Regions from separate parts of the Homo sapiens genome. Here region 2 is linked to region 1. Evidence: promoter capture Hi-C in 16 types of primary human blood cells and fetal thymus (Javierre and others, 2016). All regions are on one chromosome and are shown on one strand. The core of a region is centred on a gene start or on the middle of the fragment in contact, and the rest is flanking DNA. Distances in the headings are between cores, read along the strand shown.

Evidence for each region. Contacts are between HindIII fragments. The CHiCAGO score rates a contact against its expected background, and 5 or more counts as called.
Region 2: a contact is called between a fragment that was not itself captured here and the fragment with the promoter of DKK3 in region 1, in 1 of 17 cell types (neutrophils). The highest score is 5.2, in neutrophils.

Annotation. Positions count from the first base shown.
Region 1 is chr11:12,004,475-12,009,875 of GRCh38, forward strand. DKK3 (dickkopf Wnt signaling pathway inhibitor 3) reads right to left here and starts at 4,152. Exons shown (of 7, transcript NM_001018057.2): 1 at 3,896-4,152. The coding sequence starts at 4,108. RefSeq lists an enhancer at 2,404-3,339. The HindIII fragment of the contact is 4,877 bases long and covers 3,106-5,401 here.
Region 2 is chr11:12,284,694-12,290,858 of GRCh38, forward strand. It overlaps a transcript of MICAL2 not described here. Among named protein-coding and RNA genes, the nearest start is that of PARVA, 90 kb to the right of the region's middle. The HindIII fragment of the contact is 155 bases long and covers 2,615-2,769 here.

The sequences.
Region 1 (5,401 bases), core at 2,902-5,401:
GATCAAGCCACTGAGAGATGGCCACTGGATGAGTCAAGTCATTGCCTGCAGCATCCTCGGAGAGGAACACAGTGGAAAGTACCAGGATTCTGGAGTCAGACAAGGTGGGTTCAAGTCCTGGCTCTGCCACAAAGTAGCTGTATGACTTTAGGCAAGATACCAAATCCCACTAAACCTCAGCTTGCTCATTTGTAAAATAGGGATGTCCTACTTTGTTGAGTAGATATAAGAATTAAGGACCATGCAGTAGATATAAGAATTAAGGCATGAAATACACTATCTGCCACACAGCAAAGATGAAATACACAGCTGTTTTTATCCCGTTGCCCTTTAAGAAGGCAGTTTCAAAAGAAGCCAGTTTGTTTTGCCAGAGTTCTGAAGGGAATGGGTAGCTAGAAGCAGGAAGAGCAAACGTTGATATCATGTGTTTGAAGAGCTTGCCAACAAAGGGGAGAAGAAATGGGGCTGAGATAGAAGACAGAATGGGCAAGAAAATGACTTTCCTTAAAAGCAAGAGACCTTGCCCTCAGTTACCACTCTGGTTAGTGATAGAAAAAAACGCAGCTGGGAAGAGAAGACTGAAGGTGCTGGAGAGGACCCACCCAGAAGAAGAGAATGTTTTAGTGTTTTTAAAATTCCCATCGGGATCAGTTTGGCTTTCAAATAATTGACAAGTTGCCAAACCTAGAATTTGCTCTGGGCTGAGCAGATAGTCTTTTTATAAAACTTTTCCCCCCAGCTCAGCCACTGGTTATTTCAACAGAATGAGCTAACGGTTCTTAAATGGCACCATGAACTAAAAGTATAGTTTACAATGGAAATTTCAACCGCAACTATTATTGCCACTAGCAAGAGAAACTTAAGTCTGAAGCAAAAGGAGCTGTTTCGTAGAGGAGGAATGTGAATGCTATTAAAAATGGCACTTATACTAGAAATAGGTGAGGCAGTAAGAACATTCTAAAATGAGTGAGTTACAGAGCTGGCCATGAGGGGAAGAGAAACAGAGTGGTTATATCTTCAGAATACATTGATTGGTAGCATATAGAATAGTAACACAGGAAAGTAGGAATATCCCAGATTGAAGCCATTTGAAGATATGCTTCTTCCAATAATGACCGTACAAGTAGAGCTGCTTTGTCCTTCCCCTTAAGAAACTTCAACAGCTTGATTCAGCTGGAACATTGAAAATGCCAGGAAGTTACTTGAAAGGAGATTCATGATGCAACTATGTAAACAAATAATGCATCTGGCCCAGGTCCTTTTTGATTTTTCCCCTGAACAATGACTAAATACCAATTATCCTGTGTCTATGAGATTTAAGGGGCATTCTGGCAGTCTCCATAAAAAGTTAATACTAATAACCACAGTCTATAAACAATCTATTGTATTCTATTTTTGAAGATATCTAAAAGATACTTTTAGTATTTTAAGATTAATTTTTAATGGTTTAAGATATTTTAAAAGATAGATTCTATTGAGAATCTATCAGACACTGGTGGTGTTTTGTTATCATTCATACTGCTACTAGTAATATGATGATAATGATACCTGTTACTTATTTACAACCAACCATCATGTCATCCTTACAGCCACCTCACAATGAAGCTACCTGTATTACACGTGTTTTACTTAACCCCATTTTAGGCAGTCAGCGGATGGCCTGCCCTAGAACCACAGGCATCACAAGCTCAATTTAATGTGAAGCTGCAGAATTAAGAGACATTGGGGCCTATATGACTCCCTTCACCCTTTAATTGTTCCATGTCATGATAGTTTCACAATCACAGGAAACAAAGATCATGGATCTTGGGCTCTTGACCTGACCAGTGGATATTCAGGGATAGCTGCCCAACTCACTGATTTGCTTTACTTGCAGCATCTCATTTAATTCTCACCTTACCCTAAGAGGTGGACATTTCTCCACTTCAGACTCGGAACGCCACTGCCAGTAAGTGGCAGAGCAGGGACTGGATGAGGGAAGATCAGTCCCCACTGCCTCTTCTCCTGCCATGGTGTTCAACCTCTCTCATCCTGTACCCACTGCCAGCGAGGACACCTCTGGGAAAGAGTGGGGTAGAAGTGACAGCCCACATCTCCTCTGGTGGCAAACTTCAACCCCCCAACCTACACAGAGCCACATCTAGAGGGAGGAAAGCTGGGGTCTTGGCAAAATCCAGTCTGGATAACGCCCATGGAGAAGACCCCGTCACTAGGTCCTGCAGGGCCCCACACTGCTCTGCTCAAGAAGAGACTGAAGAGGCCCTTGCTGCTCTCTCTCCTCCCTCAGCAGAAGCTAACGTCAGAGGACCACGCTGCAGACTTTCTGAACAGTGGTGGGCACAAAAACATAGAGGTGACTTAGTCAGTCTTACCGGGAATCTGTGTGCAGGAGGGAAAGTCCTAGAACCTGGATAAGGAAAGCAGATGGCCTGCCCTAGAACCAGAGGCATCGCAAACTCCACTTAATTTGAAGCTTCAGAGTTAAGAGACATTGGGGCCTATCTGAATCCCTTCACCCTTTAATTGCTCCATGTCATGATTGTTTTGCAATCACAGGAAACAGAAAGATCATGGGTCTTGGGATCTGGGCCTGTCCAGTGGATATTCAAGGACAGCTGCCCATTTCACTGCCTCCCAAGCCAGTGTCCCCTTCACTGCAAACTCCACAGGCTAACTGTTGTGGAGTGGGAGGGGAAATAGCCCCAAACTACAAAGGGCTGCGGGGAGAAAGCAACTTCCCCCTGGAGACAAGGGCCAGCAGTTAAGGCTTTGCCCAAGGGGGATACCAAGCTGGAGACAGCAGGGATGTGAAGCCAGACCAGGGGCCAACCAGCCTGGACATTGGTTTCCTGCTGCCTCCTTCACTAGGACGGCTGGCTCCTCTCTATAGACACAGGCTACAGACAGATTGGGCCCAACAGCGCCCTCGTCTACCCACCCCAGGCACCAGGGACAGCTCCCCGCACCTGGACAGAGAGGGCTGGGCCAGTGACATCTCCTGCCCAGGTAGCCCTGGGCATGCGTGGGTGACCATCACAGAGGACAGAACAAGATGCCACCCACAGTGTTTAGACCTGGAGGTGATGGAGGGCAGAAGCTAGGCAAAGCTTTGCTAAGGTACGTGGTATCTGATAATAGTTGCTAAATACTGCGCACCTATTATTTGCCAGGTGCCCACACATATGACATTTAGTTTTCACAGGAAACTGAGGTGCAGGATATTAAGTGATTTGCCCAATGTCACCCTGCTACTGAGTGGCAGAGGAGGACCTGAGCCCAGGACAACTGCGAAGCACCGTTGGGTGGAGGGGGTATTGCCTCTCACATCCTCATCCGCCACTCATACAGTGCTGAGATTTAGGATTTCCATCTTCCCTCTCTGCCCCCACATTGCGTGAGAAGCAAGACAGCCCAGACAGACTGCCAGCAAAGCTCAGGGCTCTTTGCCTCTTTGTCCCTGCATGGCATCCTAACAAGCTCAAAGCATAACGGACAAGCTAGAACTTGGCGATGCCTGGAGCTTGTCCCGGGTTTCTGTGAAACCACAGTGCTGGAATACCAGGGGCCCTGCAAACCTCTGCTGACAATAGGGAAGGCCAACGGCATGCCTGACGCCAACTGCAGGCAGGTGGTGGCCCCAGCTACCTAGGGAGGGTCCAGTGCAGAGCCTCTCGGTGGACAGGCTCAGATCCAGACTTTTTGGCAAGGAGGCAAAACGAGGCGGGAGTAGGGATCACCGTGCGCTGCCTCCAGGTCACTCCGCATCTGCTGTCGGCCCTTCCCAGGCCCTGCGCGGGACCCGAGGTCCCTGGCCAGCGCTCTTCCATGCCTTCCCAGACTTCGCTGCCCCCAGTCTGGCGCTTCTCAGAGCCCCGCGCCGCCAGGGCGCACCCACCTCTTCCACCGCGCTGCGCAATTTGTGCTGCGTGTCCTCCATCAGTTCCTCAACCTCGCGGAACATCTCATTGAGGGTGGCCTCCTCCTGCGGGTAGCTGAGAGCCGGGCCGGGCTTGACTGGAGCCGAGGTCGCCGTCGGAGCGGGCGCGGGGGCCGTGGGGACCGCCGCCGCCAGCAGCAGGCACAGCAGGGTGGCCCCAAGCCGCTGCATCTCCGCTCTGCGCCCGCAGCCGCCGCCTGTGTGTCCCGGAACGCGATCAGAGGCGCGCGGACCACCCCCCTCGCTGGGCCCGCCGCCCCGCCCCGTTCCGCCCCGCCGCCCGCCCCTGGCGCCCCTCTTTCCCGCACCCGCCCGGAGACGGGAGGAAACCGAGGCCCCTGAAAACGCAGCTCCCCTACACCCGAAAAGACGCGACCCCACCCGCTCCAGCCCGAGCCCCGATCGCCCCAGGACCCCGCACCCCCATCCTCGAGCACAAGCTGAGCTCTGCTCCTCACCTGTGATGCTGGAGCCCTCGCCAGAGCAACCGAACCCGGATCCTCTACGCTAATAGCTCCCAAGCCCCAGCTCACCTAGACTCTGTCCCCGGTTCAAACCCTAGCCCCTCCTCGACCAGGTCAGAGTGCCCGACCCCCACTTCCACCTCAAGCCTCTCTCAGCCCCTACCTGGGGTGGACCAAGCACAGGTCAGCCCCCTCCCCTTGGCGTCGGGTCCTACTCGAGCGCCCCGCCCCACATCCACCAAGAGAGGCTGAGCTCAGCAGAGTCGTCCCCTCCCCCGCCGCCGCCCCTCACCCACCCCGACTGGACCGAGTTGCGCTGCGGGCCGGACTGGATCTGCTCGCTCCCGCCGGGAGGCCGCCGGGCTGCGGGTGCAGATGCGGGAGCGGCGCGGTGGGCGGGCCGCGGGTGCGGGAGCGCGGCGGGGTGCGGCAGCGCCGGTACCCGAGGGAGCCCGCAAGACGCGCCCCGCCCGCCCACCAGGCTCCCTCTCCGCCCCCGCCCCGAGCCCCGCCCGCCCACCAGGCCCACCCCGCCCCGCGGAGGGGCCGCAGCCCGGCCATTGGCCAGCCGGGGCGCCGGCCACCTCACGCCCCACGCCCCACGCCCTCCTCTTCTGCCTCAGCGACCAGCTCTACCGAAGGCAGCCATCTCCTTCACTGCCTGCCCCTGCGCCCGCGGCATCCCAGGCCCGTCTTCTCTGGCCTCCAGGCTTGCAACAGCCCACCGAGGTTGGGGGTAGGGGGAATGTTCCTCAGTCCCACCTTGGTCTTTCCAAGCCAACCTCTGTCCTGTGAAATCCTCAGGAAAAATCCCAGCCCCCAGCCTGGCATTCAAGCCATCACCGCTGGCCTTAGTCTGCCGTGATTGACACCGTGCTCCAGCCAGGATAACGCACTTGCAGCTCCTGGAATGGGAGAACGTCATGAGAAAGTCAGCAAGCTCCTCAAGGGTGGCATAGAGGAGTGGTCAGGACCAGACACCTGCAGCCAGCTCTGCTCC
Region 2 (6,165 bases), core at 1,442-3,941, 280 kb after region 1:
TGCTTGCTCCTTATGGAAAACATCCAGCCTGGAAAGCCCAGGCAGCCAGCAATTGGGGGGTGGGCTATTCATCTCCTCATGGGGAGCTGGGAAGACTGTGTGCCCATCCATACAGGCTCCTCCTCAAACCCATGGGCTTGATTTTGAGAGCAGGCCTGTGGGATTGGGAACCTGCCAGACAGAGCAGACATGAAGCGCCTCCAAATGTAACCACCCGAAGGGTTCTCCTTGCCTGCTGCCTAGACTGAGCTGATTTCTCAAGACAGGGGAATTGCGATAGAAAAAGAGTTTAATTTACACAGAGCTGGCTGTACAGGAGACCAGAATTTTATTATTACTTAAATCAGTCTCCCTGAAAACTCGGGGATCAGGATTTTTAAAGATAATTTGTTGAGAAGGGGTTCGGAAAATGGGGAGTGCTGATTGGTCAGGTCAGAGATGAACTCATAGGGAGTCAAAGCTGTCCTCTTGCACTGAGTCAGTTCCTGAGTGGGGGCTAAAAGACCAGATGAGCCAGTTTATCAATCTAGGTGGTGCCAGTTGAACCTCTGAGCGCAGAGTCTGCAAAATATCCCAAGCACTGATCTTAGGCTTTACAATAGTGATGTTAGCCTCAAGATGCAATTTGGGAAGGTTCGGAATCTTGCAACTTCCAGCTGCATGACTCTTAAACCACAATTTCTAATCTTGCGGCTAATTTGTTAGTCCTGCAAAGGCAGTCTTGTCCCCAGGCAGGAAGGGGGTTTGTCTGGGGAAAGGGCTGTTATCGTCTTTGTTTCCAAACTAAACTATAAACTAAGTTCCTCCCAAAGTTAGTTCAGCCTACGCCCAGGAATGAACAAAGACAGGGTGGAGGTTAGAAGCAAGAGGGATTGGTTAAGTCAGATCTCTGTCACTGTCATAATTTTCTCAGTTATAATTTTTGCAAAGGCATTTTCACAAATGGAGTAAGGGAAAGAGAGGAGCTGAAGGAGCTGGTCTTGAGGAAGGAAAGCCCCCAGGTAGTAATTGTCACCTGTGCTCCACAGCCTGGCTGCTAAGAAAGAGTTCCACTGTGAGACCTGGCAGGGAGTGGAATATCTAGGACTGTTTCTAGACAGAAAGAAAGACAGAGGGCTGGGCTAGCTGGGCCTTGGATTTAGGGTCCTGGATTCAGACCCTCCCTGCGTCCATCTCCCACACCCACATCATGCCCTTGGGCTTCCTTTCCGTTCATGCTTCCTGGCCCTGCCTGTGTGCACATTCAGATGTTCACCGTCCCCATCCTTTCTCTCCAGCAGTGATGGAGGCGCAGGGGCCTGAAGCCTGGGAATGCATCTGCAGGCCTTGCCTGGGAACAGGGAACACGTGGACCCCACTGCCCACTCTCACACCCTAAGTGACCAAGACCTGTTTTTCTTCTGCATGTGATGTTCATTTTGCTCAGCTAATCCTCAAGGCCCAGCTGGCAGAGGGGTCTTCCACAGGAAGTACAGTGTCCCGCAAATATGTTTCCCTTGGAACCAGGCCAAGGGAGGGCCACAGCAATGATGGTCCACAGCCTCAATTAAACCTGGTTTCCAAAGGGTTTGGGGGGCTCTGTGGGGAAAGGGGAGGCAGAGAGTAGAACTTCCTGCAGCTTCCTGGCTTCAATCAGAGCAGCTCCAGTTTTTAATGTATTACATATATGGAACATTGATGGCCCGTGATGACCTTAGCTTTAAATAACTGTTCTGACATGAATGAATATGTGCATGTACGTATGTACACATGCATGTATAAATATGTCTACACATATGCATATACGCATAGATGCATGTAGATGCTCACTGATGATCTTAGTAATGATGGTTCATAATTTGAGGCATTCTCTGAGGGTGGTACCTGTCCCATAGCAGGGTCTCAAATATTTGATGCCAGGTGTGGTGGCTCATGCCTGTAACCCCAGCACTTTGGGAGGCCGAGGTGGGAGGATCACTTGAGCCCAGGAGTTTGAGACCAACCTGGGCAACACAGTGGGACCCTGTCTCTATAAAAAATAAAAATTAAAAAATTATCTGCGTGTCGTGGTGCATGCCTATAGTCCCAGCTACTCGGGAGCCTGAGGTGGGAGTATCATTTGAGCCCGAGAGGTCGAGGGGGCAGTGAGCCATGACCCCACCACTGCACTCCAGCCTGGTGACAAGCAAACAAAAACACAAAAATATTTGATGTGTGAACAAATGAAAAGTTTGGTAGAGTGTGTTGTGGGGACAGCAGTATGGTGTGAGGGAAGGAGAGAGTTCAGTCTATTATAATCATTAGTCTATTGACTTGTGGTAATTGAGCTATAGGAGATAAATTCCTACTTACTCTACACATTTAATGGACTCTTCCTCCCACCCCATCTTCCCTGTCCCTTTCTTTTTCCACAGCAGCTCTGCAACGGGCCAATAGCTTCCAGTCTCCAACCCCAAGCAAATACCAGAACTGGAGGAGAGAATTCTGGTGGAGTGAGTCACTAGCTCTCTGGGGGTGGGAGGCTGGGGCTGGGCAGAAGATCTCTGGTTAATTCTCAGGGGCAGCCGTTCTCATTCCTTACATGGTATCTCTCTGGCATGGCCTCCTGGTTGTCAGAGGCAAGAAATAAAATATAAGCTTGACTTTATTTCCACTGCTGACTAGAGGGAGCCTTTTCCAAGGGACTCAAGATCTTCCCATCCCCCTCCACCCCACCCCTGGCTCAGGAATTATGGAGCCTTAGGATTCTACAGTTTCACCCAGACAGGGCCTTAGCCATCATTGCCTCTAAGCTTTTTGAAATACAGATGAGTAAACTGAGGTTCAGGAACTCTATGATTTGATTCTGTACACTGGAGTGAGACTGGGCCATCAGATTAACGGCCTCACACAAAACAGGATGCTACACACAGACACCCACACATCCACACACACACACATGCACACGCACACACACTCACACCCCTACACATACACACACATACACACCTGCTCCTTTTTCTGAGTCACCCTTGGTCCCAGTGTCCTGGGGAAGAGCAGGGCTGTGGCAGGTGCTGAGGCGGCAGGCCCTGCCAGGGGGCGCAGTGAACACGCACAGTCTCACAGCATCTAGGCAGGCCGGGGATCCAGGGACTGCAGCACTCACTGAGCAGAGTTACCTCCTCAGGCCCTGAGCGAGGGGCAGAGACTCTTCATCCAGTTCCAGGCTCATCGCTGCCTTCCACCTCCCCCCACACCCACTCCCTCTCCAGCCTCACCCTAGGAGAGGAGGACCCAGAAAGGCCTTGGCTTAGACAGGGGTTTCTACCAAGAAACGTTGTTGCAGTTGGAACTGAGCCCTGGTCTTCCTTCCTTCTGAGTCAAGGCTCCCAGCCAGTGAGTCATTCCCCCACCATCCCCAGACGCACCACCGTCACACCAGGTCAGGCTGGGACAGGGGCACCTTGGGAGCAGGACCCAGGGCTGCACTCTTGGGCAGGCCACTTCATCTGAGGACAGCCTAGAGTCACTCCTGAATCCTCTGACAGCCCCCAGCGGCGACAGCAGAGGGCAGAGGAGCTAGCATTGCCACACATGGGTCATCGCCTTTACTGCCCTGCTCTGGCCCTCCCCAAGTCCCTGGAAGCCTGCTGCCCAGGCCCGGACTATATGAGTGTAGGGTCCATCCCAAGGCTTCCAGCCCACTCTACTGTGTGCCACCAGTGTGGGGGATCAGTCCCTCCTCAGGAAGCTCCCAGCCTGGGGTGAGAGCAGGGAGGCTGGTGGGAGACCCTCCCAATAGGGCTGGGTCGCTGGGGGAGGTGCAGGAGCAAGAGGACTGCTGAGCAGCCCCATGGTGTCTGGGATGGGCCTGGGAAACTCAGCCTTTAGTTATCAAGGAGTATTGCACAGCGTTTCTCGAGAGTATACAAAAGCTGCTTTGAGGGCAGGGCTTGAGTTTTGATCATTTCAATCAGCCTAGTGTCTAGCATGGTCTGGCCCGGAGGAGGAACCCAATCCTTGTTTGCTGAATCAATGAATGAAGTAAGGAACCAAGGAGCGAGCTGGCTGGACTGCGTACAAAGGGAGGACATGGATTCAGGCCTGCTCAGGCTGCCGCCCCTAGAGGGCGCTCCAAGACTTTGAGGGGGATTTGAGCCTTGCAAAACCTCCAAGTTCTGGGAAGCTGCACCATGGAGTCCCAGTCTCCCGAAAATCCCCAGAGCTGAAAGCCACGAGAGCCATCTTTTTTATTGTCTTTACTTTGCCCAAAAGAAAACCTCAGGGAGCAGGGCTGGCATTGCCATTGGGAGCAGAATGCATGGTACCATCCCTCCTGTCCAGAGGCATTACTGCCCCATCACAGCTGGTTCTGGCCCCAAGCCCCAGGTGGGAGGGCCGGAGGGGATATGTGGCTGCCCTGGGCACCCTCCCCAGCTGATCATGCTGCCAGATGACCTCTAGGATCTACGAGAAAGGTTGCTGCTGCCAGAGGGCCCAGAGAGGAGGTAGCACAAGCGCCTGACCCAGAGGCAGCCTGGATGCTGAAACTCAGGCGCTGGTGTGCGCATCAGCCTCCTTCGCACAAAACAACCCTAAGGGCCAGCTGCACGTGTGACTGAGACCCCTGCAGAAGGCAAGGCAGCCCCCGGTGGGCCATACCAAGGTTTCAAGGAAACGGCCAGCAGAGGGGGATGTGAGTTGGCCAATGAGGAGCTCTTGGCTCAAGAGTTGGAGAAATCCTGGCTGGGTAGAGTGTGCAGCCCCCTCTGGAATGGGCCAGGGCTTCAGCAATGTCTTTACTGGACGCGGCTTGAGTGCGTGAGAGGGTGGGAAACTAATGGAGTTCATATTTTGCTGACAACTAGCTTTTACTTTGTGTCCTGTGCCACTGGGCACCTCTTGTTTTTTTTTGTTTTTTTTTTTTTTCTTCTTGAGATGGGGTCTCACTTGGTCACCCAGACTGGAGTGCAGTGGCGTGATCTCAGCTCACTGCAATCTCCGCCTCCCAGGTTCAAGTGATCCTCCCACCTCAGCCTCTCGAGTAGCTGGGACCACAGGCGCGCACCACCATGCCTGGCTAATTTTTGTATTTTTGGTAAAAACAAGGTTTCGCCATGTTGGCCAGACTGGTCTTGAACTCCTGAGCTCAAGTGATCCATCCACCTCGGCCTCCAAAAGTGCTCTGATTACAGGTGTGAGGCACCATGCCTGGCCAACTGGCAATCTCTTTTTAGCCCATGTTATCTGCTCAACCACCCCATGAAGCTGCACCAGACAGCCCACTTTTTGGATGAGGAGACAGGGGTTAAGTAACTTGCTCAGAGCCAGGCAGCTGGTATGTGTGTGAAGGAGTGGACTTCCAGGCTCCCCTTCACCATCTTCTGAGAGAACCCCAAGACACAGTGGGCATCAGGAAGGGTAGGTTTCTCATCACCTCTCTCCCCAGGCTGTGCCCACCTCCCAAGCAGTGGCTTGAATGGCAGCCCAGGGACAAGGGGCTCGGCCTGAGCTGGGGCTTTGCTTCCCCCATCTCCTCAAGCCCTGCTGGAGTTCCATCTTGAAGGCAGTGCATGAGGACCACATGTGGAGAGAAAGAGACCCCCTAGCAGGGGTGGGAGTGGGGATTAGAGAAAGGAGAAGAAGGGAGTGGCTTCTGGGTCATGACCTCGTGAGACCTGAGGTGTTTCTGTCAGGCTTGTTTCCTGAGGTGGCCCTGGCTTCCTGTCAGGAAGTCCCTGAGGGATCCTCAGGGGGAACAAAAAGGCAGTCTGTTGAGCTGAGGGGACTTGAGGCAAGTGAAGGAGTTTGATTCAGAAGATGGCAGAGAGGGAGAATGAGGGTGCAAGGAGGAAGGGAAGAAGGAATTTGGCAAACTGAGGACAAGAACGGGAAGCAAGGCAAGGACTGACTCACAACTTTTGCCTTTTTAGGCTTGAACCTTCTAATCGTGGGCTGCGATGGGGGTGCGGTAGTGGGAGGCAGGCCAGCCGCCTCCCCAGCAGCTCCTTCCTGCCGCCCTCAGATCAGATCTGTTCCCAGAATTACCTTTTCCCTCCAAAGCTTTCTGCGAGGCCTCCCTCTGGGAGCTTGCTGACCGTGTGCGTGTGGTGCCATCTGTTCAGAGCCCACGGCTGGGACACACAGTCGCACATGTTCGCATTGATGTATGGGGGAAGGCAGGACAGAATATCGAGAACGGTGTGG